2 separate regions of the Homo sapiens genome follow, and region 2 is linked to region 1. Evidence: promoter capture Hi-C in 16 types of primary human blood cells and fetal thymus (Javierre and others, 2016). All regions are on one chromosome and are shown on one strand. The core of a region is centred on a gene start or on the middle of the fragment in contact, and the rest is flanking DNA. Distances in the headings are between cores, read along the strand shown. Region 1 holds the start of SLC22A9 (solute carrier family 22 member 9). Region 2 overlaps SLC22A8 (solute carrier family 22 member 8).

Evidence for each region. Contacts are between HindIII fragments. The CHiCAGO score rates a contact against its expected background, and 5 or more counts as called.
Region 2: a fragment that was not itself captured here is called in contact with the fragment with the promoter of SLC22A9 in region 1 in 1 of 17 cell types (M1 macrophages); the score reaches 6.3 in M1 macrophages.

What each region holds. Positions count from the first base shown.
Region 1 is chr11:63,366,952-63,373,541 of GRCh38, forward strand. SLC22A9 (solute carrier family 22 member 9) reads left to right here and starts at 2,834. Exons shown (of 10, transcript NM_080866.3): 1 at 2,834-3,507; 2 at 4,184-4,287. The coding sequence starts at 3,106. The HindIII fragment of the contact is 7,377 bases long and covers 1-6,492 here.
Region 2 is chr11:63,000,160-63,006,749 of GRCh38, forward strand. It overlaps SLC22A8 (solute carrier family 22 member 8), which reads right to left. Exons shown (of 11, transcript NM_004254.4): 3 at 561-664. Among named protein-coding and RNA genes, the nearest start is that of SLC22A8, 12 kb to the right of the region's middle. The HindIII fragment of the contact is 3,462 bases long and covers 1,477-4,938 here.

The DNA of each region.
Region 1 (6,590 bases), core at 1,584-4,083:
GGAGCCCGCATTGCCAAGTCAATCCTAAGCCAAAAGAACAAAGCTGGAGGCAACACGTTACCTGACTTCAAACTATACTACAAGGCTACAGTAACCAAAACAGCATGGTACTGGTACCAAAACAGAGATATAGACCAATGGAACAGAACAGAGCCCTCAGAAATAATGCCACATATCTACAACTATCCGATCTTTGACAAACCTGACAAAAACAAGAAATGGGGAAAGGATTCCCTATTTAATAAACGGTGCTAGGAAAACTGGCTAGCCATATGTAGAAAGCTGAAACTGGATCCCTTCCTTACACCTTATACAAAAATCAATTCAAGATGGATTAAAGACTTACATGTCAGACCTAAAACCTTAAAAACCCTAGAAGAAAACCTAGGCAATACCATTCAGGACATACGCATGGGCAAGGACTTCATGTCTAAAACACCAAAAGCAATGGCAACAAAAGCCAAAATTGACAAATGGGATCTAATTAAACTAAAGAGCTTCTGCACAGCAAAAGAAATTACCATCAGAGTGAACAGGCAACCTACAGAATGGGAGAAAATTTTCACAACCTACTCATCTGACAAAGGGTTAATATCCAGAATCTACAATGAACTCAAACAAATTTACAAGAAAAAAACAAATAACCCCATCAACAAGTGGGTGAAGGATATGAACAGACACTTCTCAAAAGAAGACATTTATGCAGCCAAAAGACACATGAAAAAAATGCTCATCATCACTGGCCGTCAGAGAAATGCAAATCAAAACCACAGTGAGATACCATCTCACACCAGTTAGAATGGCCATCATTAAGAAGTCAGGAAACAATAGGTGCTGGAGAGGATGTGGAGAAATAGGAACACTTTTACACTGTTGGTGGGACTGTAAACTAGTTCAACCACTGTGGAAGTCAGTGTGGTGATTCCTCAGGGATCTAGAACTAGAAATACCATTTGTCCCAGCCATCCCATTACTGAATATATACCCAAAGGATTATAAATCATGTTGCTATAAAAACACATGCACATGTATGCTTATTGCAGCACTATTTACAATAGCAAAGACTTGGAACCAACCCAAATGTCCAACAATGATAGACTGGATTAAGAAAATGTGGCACATATACACCATGGAATACTATGCAGCCATAAAAAAGGATGAGTTCGTGTCATTTGTAGGGACATGGATGAAGCTGGAAACCATTATTCTCAGCAAACTATTGCAAGGACAAAAAACCAAACACCGCATGTTCTCACTCATAGGTTGGAATTGAACAATGAGAACACATGGACACAGGAAGGGGAACATCACACACCGGGGCCAGTTGTGGGGTGGGGAGACAGGGGAGGGATAGCATTAGGAGATATACCTAATGTTAAATGACGAATTAATGGGTGCAGCACACCAACATGGCACATGTATACATATGTAACTAATCTGCACGTTGTGCACATGTACCCTAAAACTTAAAGTATAATTTTAAAAAAAAGAAAATGTGGCACATATATACCATGGAATACTATGCAGCCATAAAAAATGATGAGTTCACATCCTTTGTAGGGACATGGATGAAGCTGGAAACCATCATTCTCAGCAACCTATCGCAAGGACAAAAAACCAAACACCACATGTTCTCACTCATAGGTGGGAATTGAACAATGAGAACACATGGACACAGGAAGGGGAACATCACACACCAGGGACTGTTGTTAGGTGGGGGTAGGGGGGAGGGATAGCATTAGGAGATATACCTAATGCTAAATGATGAGTTAATGGGTGCAGCACACCAATATGGCACATGTATACATATGTAACAAACCTGCACGTTGTGTACATGTACCCTAAAACTTGAAGTATAATTTAAAAAAAAGAAAAAGAAACATTATGTTAAATGAATTAAGCCAGATATACAAAGTCAAGTATTTTATGATTCAATGTATAAATCAAATGTCCACAATAGGCAAATCCTTAGAATCAGAAAGTAAATTAGCGGTTGCTAAGTGGGATGTGTGAATAAAAATGGAGAGTTACTGCTAATGGGTATGGTTTCCTATGTGGTGATTAAAATGCTCTGTAACGATATAGTAGTGATGATTGCACAACTCTTTGAATGATCAAAACACATTCAATTGTATACTTTAAAAGGGTAAATTGTATGGTAAATGAATTATACTTCAAGGAGGTTTAAATTTTAATAGAAATTTTAGTCCTAATCAAGGTGACATTTTCTCCCATATTTTGCCTCCAATTCTTCCACAGCACATAGTGCATCTCACATAATATTTATAATGTTGGAGTGCAATTGTTTATGTACTCTCTCTTACTTACTCAACTATAAGATCCTTGAACTTGTCACACACGTTACTTTAGGAACTAGCATGGAAAAGGTCTTCACAAATACTATCTGAAAAATCAATAAGCCAGTAAAAGTAAACCTCCATATGAGCTTACTCCTCTGCTTTTCATCACCATCTATTCTGTCCACATTTCAAGCAATGTATTTCCAGCATGAATTTGTGGTGTGATTTGACATGAAGGAGAACATCAGTCACCAAAATGAAAGGATTGTACCACAGTACCCTTATTTTAGTTTAACTTCGACTTTTTTAGATTAACTCTTAATCAAAAATTGGTACTTAACAAGGAAAAACTTGCCTTCTGTTGTTTTCAGAGAAGTAAAAAAAGCACCTCACCTTTGAGTCGCCAAAATTATGCTTCCTGGAATGACCGCATACCATGTAGCAGGTTTATTTTAGTTTGTTTACAGAAAAGTGTAGACCAAAGTCCAGTGCTGACTTTGGGAGCTACTAAAGACATGAAAAAGTAGAATTTTAAACACATTTCATTGTAAACGACTGGGAGTATCTGAGCAAATTATTTCTTACGTGACTTTAGAGAAAACGGCTACCTATCTGACCCCAAAACGACTTGAGGAAACTGTTTCCACGGTCCTGCTGCAGAGGGGAAGCACAGTCGTCAAGAAGAGAGTGGGGTCAGGATCAAAACACATTTAGTGTGACTTAGGGAAAGAAAACATTTTCCCTCTTTGAACCTCTCTGGATACAGTCATTTTGCCTCTACTTGAGGATCAACTGTTCAACCTCAATGGCCTTTCAGGACCTCCTGGGTCACGCTGGTGACCTGTGGAGATTCCAGATCCTTCAGACTGTTTTTCTCTCAATCTTTGCTGTTGCTACATACCTTCATTTTATGCTGGAGAACTTCACTGCATTCATACCTGGCCATCGCTGCTGGGTCCACATCCTGGACAATGACACTGTCTCTGACAATGACACTGGGGCCCTCAGCCAAGATGCACTCTTGAGAATCTCCATCCCACTGGACTCAAACATGAGGCCAGAGAAGTGTCGTCGCTTTGTTCATCCTCAGTGGCAGCTCCTTCACCTGAATGGGACCTTCCCCAACACAAGTGACGCAGACATGGAGCCCTGTGTGGATGGCTGGGTGTATGACAGAATCTCCTTCTCATCCACCATCGTGACTGAGGTAAGAGGCTCTGTTCTCGTCTCATGAGTATGTGACCTGGGTGTTTAGAATAACACAAGTAATAATCATGCTTCCAGCCTTCAGTCACATGTAGGTCCTTAGTCTTCATTCTTTCAGCAAATACTAATTGCTTCTTTATTAAATGTCTGACACCTACACATTTTGAGTAATGAATTCCAAAGTAGAAGGCATCCTGCTATTATAATGCTTTAAGTCACAGGGAGACCAAAGTTTAAACAAGCATTTATATATAATATGTTAAAATGTTCTGCTAGGTCAGTGATGCTCAGCCTGTCATTGCAAATTAGAAATATCTGGGAAATTGAGAAAAGCCTCCATGCCCAGAGTATACCCTAAAACAATCATATGAGAAGGTCTAAGAGGGAAATTTAGGTTTCTAAAAGTTTTTAAAGGTCTTCAAGTGATTGCACCATGTGGTCATGTTTGAGAACCATTTAGTATGAAATAAAAACCTATAGGTTTAGGAAAGTCTTCCAAGAGAAAGTTATGTTTAAGTTGAGACCTGAATAACAAAGGTCAGGTAATGCTGAGAAAGGAAGCCACAGAGGAAGTTAGAGACTTAATATTAGGAAACTTGCAGATCATGCTAAGAAGTTTTGATCAAGTTACACTGAGGGGTAATAAGCATTGATGTGCTGGCTTCCTTCTCTTCCAGTGGGATCTGGTATGTGACTCTCAATCACTGACTTCAGTGGCTAAATTTGTATTCATGGCTGGAATGATGGTGGGAGGCATCCTAGGCGGTCATTTATCAGACAGGTGAGTGTGTATGGAACACAGCTCTCTTTAAGGGCATTTTTTATCAACTTATGAAACATTATTTCATCTAGAATTACTTACTGCAAATTACATTCTCCTGAGGCTGCCCTGATCCCCAAACAGAAAAGGAAATTTTTAGTCCGTGTTTTGAGTGCTATTTTTAAAATTTGAGCTCTGTATGCAGGACACAGAAATGATATCTCCATGTGAACTGGGGGTGTTTCAAGACAGGTTTTAGAGAGAAGGTACCACAACATGTGGTTTAGAAATATGAGAAAGAGTTAACTAAGGGAATAGAAAGGAAGACGTTTCATCACATAGGATTCAGCCTTGGCCAGGAGTACCAGGTCCAGTCCTACCTGGACACTGTGAGCTGATAGCTTGTGCCCAGAGAATTGTCATTACATCATAGTTCCAAGTGTGATGAACACGCATTCCTCTAAAACCTGTAGGGTATATTTGAAGGTATCATTGGTGGTGTGTTGAAAAATTATGTGTAGAAACTTGATTATTGTCTTTGCAAAAACAGCTTTTTAGAACCATGTGAGGTAAGTAATCCAAGGATAATACTATCTCAGTCTGTGGTGTGAGAAGTTTGGGGTATTCACCTTGCTGTATGTCTCCTGACATGGCAGGGAACAATTACCTTCACCCAACCATGTCTCCCCTGATGGCGATGAGGGACTTGAAGTGCCACTTGCCATCCACCAACATCATGTCTTCTGGTGTCTCACCTGAAAATTTGAACCTTGAATGTACGACAGGAAATGGAATGTAGAATGAGCTAAGAGTCAGAGGGTTAATTTCCAATAGTTAGTCACCCAGTCCTCTGTGATACTGTCCTGGGAAAATGCAGATAGACCAATTTTAATAGATCACAGGGTGGTAAAAGAAGGGGTAGGAGATGCCAGGCAGGAGATGACAGTGGAGAATCAGCTAAAGACGAAGGGACAAGATAACCTAAGGATTTTGGTATTTCTCACAAACCTAAGAGGAAATATTATGTGATTATATGCAGAGTAGGCTATGATCAAACTGATTGTTTTGGAATAACTCACTCAACTGTTTATGATATCTTAAAATCGGAAATAATCTATAATTTCATTAATAATAGGTTAATAAATAAGCAGATATTCACATAATGAATTTTTACAGCAAAGGGAATGAATAAAGTACTGTCTGCAATAAGGTGAATTAACATCAAAACCATTTGGTTAGGTACCACAAGACCAACAAAAAGATTACATACTATAGTGTTCCACCAATGTAAAAGTCAAAAACAAGGAACTACATTATGATGTGAGAAAAGGGAGAAATCTAATTTCCTTTAGATTTCTATTGGAATTGCATTAAATCTAAACAGCAGTTTGGGTAAGACTGACATTTTTTAAATACTGAATTTTCTGATCTATAAATATAATATTGCTTTTAATTAAGGTAGACTTTTGTTTAATTTCCCTTTGCAATATTTTATAGTTTATGATAAAAGTCATGTACTTTTTATTAATTTATTTCTAATTCATATGTAAAGATAATTTACATGTAAATTATGTACATATATGTAAAGATAATTAACTTTTTCATAGTAAACTTACATCCTGCCAACAGGATAAATTTATTAGTTCTAGTAGCTATTTATGGATTCCTTAAAATTTCCCAACTTGATCATATCATCTGCAAGGTGGAATAGTTCAAATCACTAATGTTCTACTTTTTCCTTTTAATCTCTTTCTAGCAGTAGCTAAAACCTTTGATACAATGCCAATGACATTGGTGAGAGCTGAAATCCTGCCTCACCACAGGCTATATTGTTCCAGTTGTCTACAGAGAGGACTCCTTTCCCAGAAAACAGTAAAACACTAAATTCCCTTTTTCTTTTTTTTCCTTTTTTTTTTTCTTTTTTTTTTTGCCCTCCCCTGCAACACTTCAACAACTTTGATGTATTGTTCTATGGATGTTCCTTTCACATCAGTATACCCATAGCCTGCACTGTCCTAGACTTCTACATCTAGATTTAGATGTCTTATAGGCTATGCCCTGCTCAGGCTCTCTACTATGCTAAAGTACATGGGAGACACATTGTGTTATTAGTACGCTGTGTGTTAGTACAAGGGACTTCTGATACTTTAAAATGTCCAATATTCCACCCTGTCTTATGTGGTTTCAATTGGTGTCAAAAATATACTGCTAAGAGATTGGAAAATAAGCTTTGATCTACTTGGTATTTATTTAGAAACAGGGAACATTGTGTCTGAGATCTGCCATTGATTACTGATTCTTTAAGGCTTCAAATGCAAAGTTTC
Region 2 (6,590 bases), core at 1,958-4,457, 370 kb before region 1:
AAAACCTGGAGGTTTTTTCCCCTGGAAGAAGGGAAGGCTGGAGGCCAGACACGGTGGTTCATGCCTGTAATCCCGGCACTTTGGGAGGCCAAGATGGGAGGGTCACTTGAGGTCAGGAGTTTGAGACCAGCCTGACCAACATGGTGAAACCTCGTCTCTACTAAAAATACAAAAATTAGCCAGGCGTGGTGACACACGCCTGTAATCCCAGCTACTCGGGTGGCTGAGGCAGGAGAATCACTTGAATCCGGGAGGTGGAGGTTGCAGTGAGCTGAGATTGTGCCATCGCACTCCAGCCTGGGCAATAAGAGTGAGACTCCGTCTTAAGAGAAAAAAAAAAAAAAAAAAAAGGAAGGCTGGAAGATTCCAGTTGTAAGGGCTTTGGGGTGGAGAGAAGGCTGTGGTCCAGAAAGGTAGTGAGGTTTGCCCAAGGCCACACAGCAAGAGCCATCCCACCCTCCCCCAGCTCTTTGCCTCTTTGCGGGTGCACGGGTGGAGCAGAGTAGGGAAGGGTTGTCCCCATGGGTCATGCTTCCATGGGCTGTGCCCCCATGTCTCACCTGTCAGACAGGTCTCCAAGCACGAGCCCTCCAATCAGTATACCTGCCATGAAGATAGACTGGGCCATCTCCTTCAGTTTGTTGGAGTTGCACACCAAGTCCCACTGCACAAGAGAAAGGTAGGGCTAGCCTAACTCAGTGTAGACAGCCTGCTCAGCCATGCTCAGCCTGTGGCCTCATACATGTGGGCTTCCTCTCCCAGCGCCCTGACTTTGCCCCTACCTCCCAAGGACCGTTTCCTTTTTCAGCCCGGCTCGGAGCTCCTTGGGTTTGTCTGTGGCTCTTCGGCCCCTGACCTGCATCCCTCAGGCATGTGTGGCCTGTCATATGGCTCTCAAAGTCCACTCAGCTACCACATCCAGGTCTGGCCTCAACTGCTTCCTCCTCTCCAAGTTGCCTGCTTCCCTGTTTGCCTCCTCCCTGCCCCTCACATAGCCCAGGCCAGTCCCTCTGCGTACCCCCTTGACCTTGCCTTCTCTCCTCTACAGGGACGTTCCTCTATCCTTGCCACCTCTCTTCATCCTGCAGATCCAGTCTCTCTCTCTCTCTGCTCCTCCTCATCAGTATTTAGGTGTGTCCAAATCTCTCCATCTTAAAACCTCTTTCCTTTCCTCATTCACTCCATTTCTCTCTTCCCTTCAAAGCCAAATCCTTTGAACGAGGAGCTGTACTTGCTGTCACTCCATCCTCATCTCCTTTTCATGTCTCACTTCTGCCCCCAACCCATCCACTGAATCTGTGCTTATCAAGGTCACTGAAGTTTCATTTTTACGGCGCACAATGGAACGTCCCTAATCCTGGCCTGGCTTGCCCTCTGGCAGATGTGGATGCTGCTGATCTCGCCCTCCGTCAGGCTTCCTGCTGTTCTGCACTCCTCGTCTCCTTCACAGCTCGTTTCTCTCTGCCTAGTCCTTGAAGCTTTCCCAGGGCTCTTCCTGAATCCTCCTCTCTCTCCACTTTCCCCAGGCGATGCCATCTGTTCCTGCGGCTTCAATTCCTATTTTATACTGAAGATTCCAAATCTACAACTCCAGCCCAACCTATCTTCTGACCCACAGAGGAGTAGATTCAGTGGTCCCACTTGAGAACTCTGCCTGGATAGAGTCACAGGCACATCCCAGATTCAATGGGACTTATCACCCCACTTCTCATTAAAGTCCCAATCTCAGGGACTGGTAACCTTCTCTTTTTAATTAATTAATTAATTAAATTAATTTTTTTTTGAGACAGGGTCTCACTCTGTCACCCAGGCTGACTACAGTGGCATGATCATGGCTCAATGAAGCCTCAGTCTCCTGGGCTAAAGCCATCCTCCTAAGTAACTGGGACTACAGGTGTGCATGACCACACCTGGCTAATTTTGGATTTTGTATATAGACAGGAGCTCACTATGTTGCCCAGGCTGGTCTCTAACTCCTGGCCTCAAGTGATCTGCCTGTCTTGGCCTCCCAAAATACTGGAATTACAGATGTGAGTCACCACATCCAGCCTCTTTTTTATTTTTATTTAAAAAAAATTATATCATTTTTAATTGGCAAATCATAATTATATTACATATATGAAAACAATGTGGTGTTTTGATATATGTATGCAATGTGAAGTGATTAAATCAAGCTAATTAACATCACTTCATTTACTTGACATTTTTTGTGGTGATACTTTTGAAAGTCACCCTTCTAGTTATGGTGAAATAAACAATACATCATTATTCTTGACTGTAGCCATCATGCTGTGAAACAGATCTCAAAACGTATTCCACCCATCTAGCTGAAACTTTGTACCCTTTGATCAGTAACTCCCCATTCCTTTCCCCAGCCCCTTCCCCCCGAGCTTTTGGTAACCATCATTCTACTCTCTACTTCTGTGAATTGGACTTTTTTTTAAAGATACCATATATAAATGAGATCATGCTGATAACCCTCTTGATTCCTTCCTCCCTCTCCTACTCCACAATCACTTGATCTTCAAGATTCTAGCTTTTTGATATTTCTTGAATCTGGATTCTTCTATTTCCAATACTACTGCCTTAGTGTAGGCCTCATCATCTTGCACTTAGATTAATAATGACAACTGATATTTATTGAGGGTGTTCTAGGTACTGGGCACTGTTCTAAGCTCTTTCCATGTTTTAACTTTAATCTTCACAATAACCTTATTATGTAGGTGCTAATATCATGCTATTTTACAGATAAAGAACCTGAGGCCCAGATGAGGCTGCTGCAGCAACCTCTTGACAGGTCTACTGGACTTCGGCCTCATCCCTTCCTAGCCATTCTTTCCCTGATAACCTGAAGGGCTAAAACGCCACTCAAATCAGGTGCCTGTCTTGCCTAAAGTGCTCACTGGCTTCTCCTTGCCCTTTCGGTAAAGATAATGCCCCATTAACATGGGTTTATGAGGCCCTCCATGCTCTGGCCCCTGCCTACCTGTCTGGTCTAATCTGCTAATCCCCAACATGCACCCTTTGCTCCAGCCATCTGAATTACTTGTGCGATGAAGTGGAGAATTTAATTCAATAGAAATGCCTCACAAGAATGTTTTGGAAGCAAAACATTCCAAAAGGTGAAGAACCAAACATTCCAGGGAGCTCTTTCTCACTTTCCTCAGTTGGAAGTGAGGGAGAATGGTGGTGGATGGAATCTCCGGGTCCTACAGCTGTCTCAGAGTGGCCCAGCATGGCCAGCAAGCCTGGTGGTCCGTTTTAGTTGGGAAGGGGGCCTGCATGGTATGTGTGTTGGGAGGAGATGGAGGAGGGACAAAGGTAAAGGAAGAAGCAAGGGGGTGTGAGGTGGAGGAATGTGCAAGGGGCCATCTAGAGAGACTTCTGGTACTTTGTGGCATGCTGTGTAAAGTCCCTTTAGGAAAATCTAAAGGAGAGACCTACTGTTCACCTAAATTCATTCACCCCTTCTTCCATAGTAAATAGCACATTTCCCTGATGACCTTGTACTGAGTGGGGCCATGTAGTTCTTGACAATGGAATGTGAGTAGAAGAGATGTATGTTACTTCCACCTCATTTGCTTAAGAGGGATTCCCTAGTCTGGACTTGCATGCTTTCTTCCCCTCCTGTTGGTGGGAATGGTGACAACTAGAACAACTCTGGAGAGTTGCTGTCAGTCTGGGTCCCTGAATGACTCTGTGAAGCAGAACCACCCATTGGCCTAAAATGCTACTCACCTTGGAACTGTTACATGAGAAAGAGAAACACTTCAATATTTTTCGAGCCATGAATTATTGTTGTTATAATAACCTAGCCTATCCTGATACATCCCATAAGAAGTTGCAAATGGAAATTAGATTTTTATCCCAACCTCCATGATAATTAGTGCCTTAAGAAATCAATAATCTGTTTGGATCATGAGAAGGTCAATTGTCAGACCTGCTTGGAAGGTTTCAGGCTGCTGTCCTGCTCCACCATCTGAGACCAGATCTGCTGGATCTTGGTTTCTACCATGATACTTGTGATCATGTAGGCTTTAGAATAACTGTCATGAGCTGGTTTCTACCAGAAAATTGAGCAATTTACAGAAAATATCATTCCTGGAATAAACTTTTGAGACCTGTTTAGAACATGCCTGAATCCTTACAATGGCTTACGAGGCCCTGGAAAATCAGCCAACATCTTTATCCCTGTCACCTCTCTGCTCTTACCTGCTACTGCCCTCTCCCTCACATACTCCACTCTCGTTGAATTGTTCGCCTTGCTGCTCCATAAACATTTCAAGCATGCTCCTACCTCAGAGTCTTGGTGTATGTTGTTCTCTTTTTCTAGAATGTTCTCCCAGATAGCTACTTGACTTGCACCTCCTTCAGATCTTTGCTCAAATGTTATCTTCTCAGTGAGACCTCCCTATTTACAATTATAACTCCCAGCAGCCTATACCTCTCTACCCTACTTAATTTTCTCAGTAGTGCTTATACCATCAGAATGCTGAATGATTTTCCATCTTTTTGGTTTATTGCATGTTTCTCTCCCAAGAATATCAGCCTGATGAAGATAAGGCTTTTAGTCTGTTTTGTTTACTACTGTACTTTCATTATCAAGAACAGTATCCGATACATACTAGGCACTCAATACTTGTGGAATTGAATGTGTGAACATTCCACAGAAAGAACAGAGGGATTGAGAGCCTTAGAAGTTAGAGATCTGCCAGTGTCTACATGAGAGGTCATAGGGCCCACACTCCAAATGCTATGTGCCTCATTTCACCAGAATGAGTGCATGTCAATATGGATAGTGTCTAGGCTGTATGTGCTGAGGATATAACCACACGCCAGTGAGCAGGAGAGAAGTGTTTTTTCTTCACAGTCAGACTGGGAAACCTACTATGGAAAAATTGTCTACTGGAGGATTATCATCCTTCAATGACATTTAGAAGCTTGGAAGGAAGAGTGATTTGTGGTTAAATATTTTTAAAAAATTGAACTTCAATTGCACTCTAAATTGCTCCCAGAGATTTCATGGTTAATGAAGCACATCAGAACTGATGAGAAAAATATGGCCATGGCTTCCCTAAAGATCAACACAAATCTGTTTTCCCTGAAGACCAACACAAATCTTCCCTGAAGATCAGGAGAAAGCTTTGCAAATAATGCCATAATAACCTTATAAAGTAGGTACTCGTGTTATTTCTTTTTATAGACAAAGAATCTGATCTCACAGGGTAAGTGGCTTGCCCAAGCATGGCTTGGTTCATTTCAAGACAGAGACTGAAACTCAGATCTGAGATCTGCAACTGTTATGGGTTGACTTGTGTCCCTCCAAAAAATACATTGAAGTTTTAACTCTTCGTGGATCAGAATACGACCTCATTTGGAAATAGAGTTGTTGTAGATGTAATTAGCTAAGTTATAATATGAGGAGATTATACTGAGGTAGAGTGGGTTCTTAATTCACTATGACTCGTGTTCTTATAAGAAGACAAGAGAGAGACACATGGGGATGTTATGATCCACAGAGGCAGAGATTGGACTGATGCGTCTACAAGCTGGGGAATGCCAAGGGTTTCCGGCAACCACCAGAAGCTGGCAGAGGCAAGGAAGGATTCTTCCCTAGAGCCTTTGGAGAGGACACACCAACACCTTGAGTTTGGATTTCTAGACTCCAGATCTGTGAGACAATAAAATCTGTTGTTCTGAGCCACCCAATTTGTTGTGCTTTGTTATGGTAGCCCTAGGAAACTAATATACGGCACGATTCCTGAATATTTGAAGGAACTGCTGGCTTTATAAGGGGTGATTGGAAGAGGATTGGGACTAGACAAGCATGGCAATGAGGGAACCAGATGTGGAGCAAATGGGAGAGATTTTTAAAGGCATCCTGGAATTTCTGGGAGAGAGGAAGGTATTTAGAGAGAATTTTGGCATGCTTTCTGTGCAAAGACCCTAAGAAGGCCCTTTTAAGAAAACTTAGGCTAGATGTCTTGATTATTACTCAGGGTGTCAAGAGTGTGACTTGTGTTTCCCTTGACTGTGTCTCCATGGTAGTCTGAGCCATGCAAGTCCTTGGATTCCATCAGGTTACACTACAGAAGCTCCATGCTATTGCATTTCTCTTTGCTTTGGTGCTGGTTATGATCCCCTTATTCTAGTAGTGTTGGCAGTCCTTTGAAACTCATGTCAATATCGTCTTTTTGGAGAGCCAGGAACTTCTTTTATGGTCGTCTGGCACAAACAGGTGGTCAATAAGTGTTTGTCAGTTCGATAAATGGATAAGAGTGTCTAGCCGCCCAGGGTAGGTAAGGTGCTCCTCATTTCCCTTTCTTGTTCTTACCTCCAATAGGGCACCTATTACATGGCATTCTAACTGCTTATTCACTTGTTTGCTGTCCTGTATTCTGTAATCTTGCTGAGGACTGAGAATGTCTCATTTGAGTTTTTTTTTTTTTTTTTTTTTTTTTTTTTTGAGACAGAGTCTTGCTCTGTTACTCAGGCTGGAGTACAGTGGTGCAATCTCAGCTCACTGTAACCTCTACCTCCCAGGTTCAAGTGATTCTCCTGCATCAGCCTCCTGAGTAGCTGGGATTATA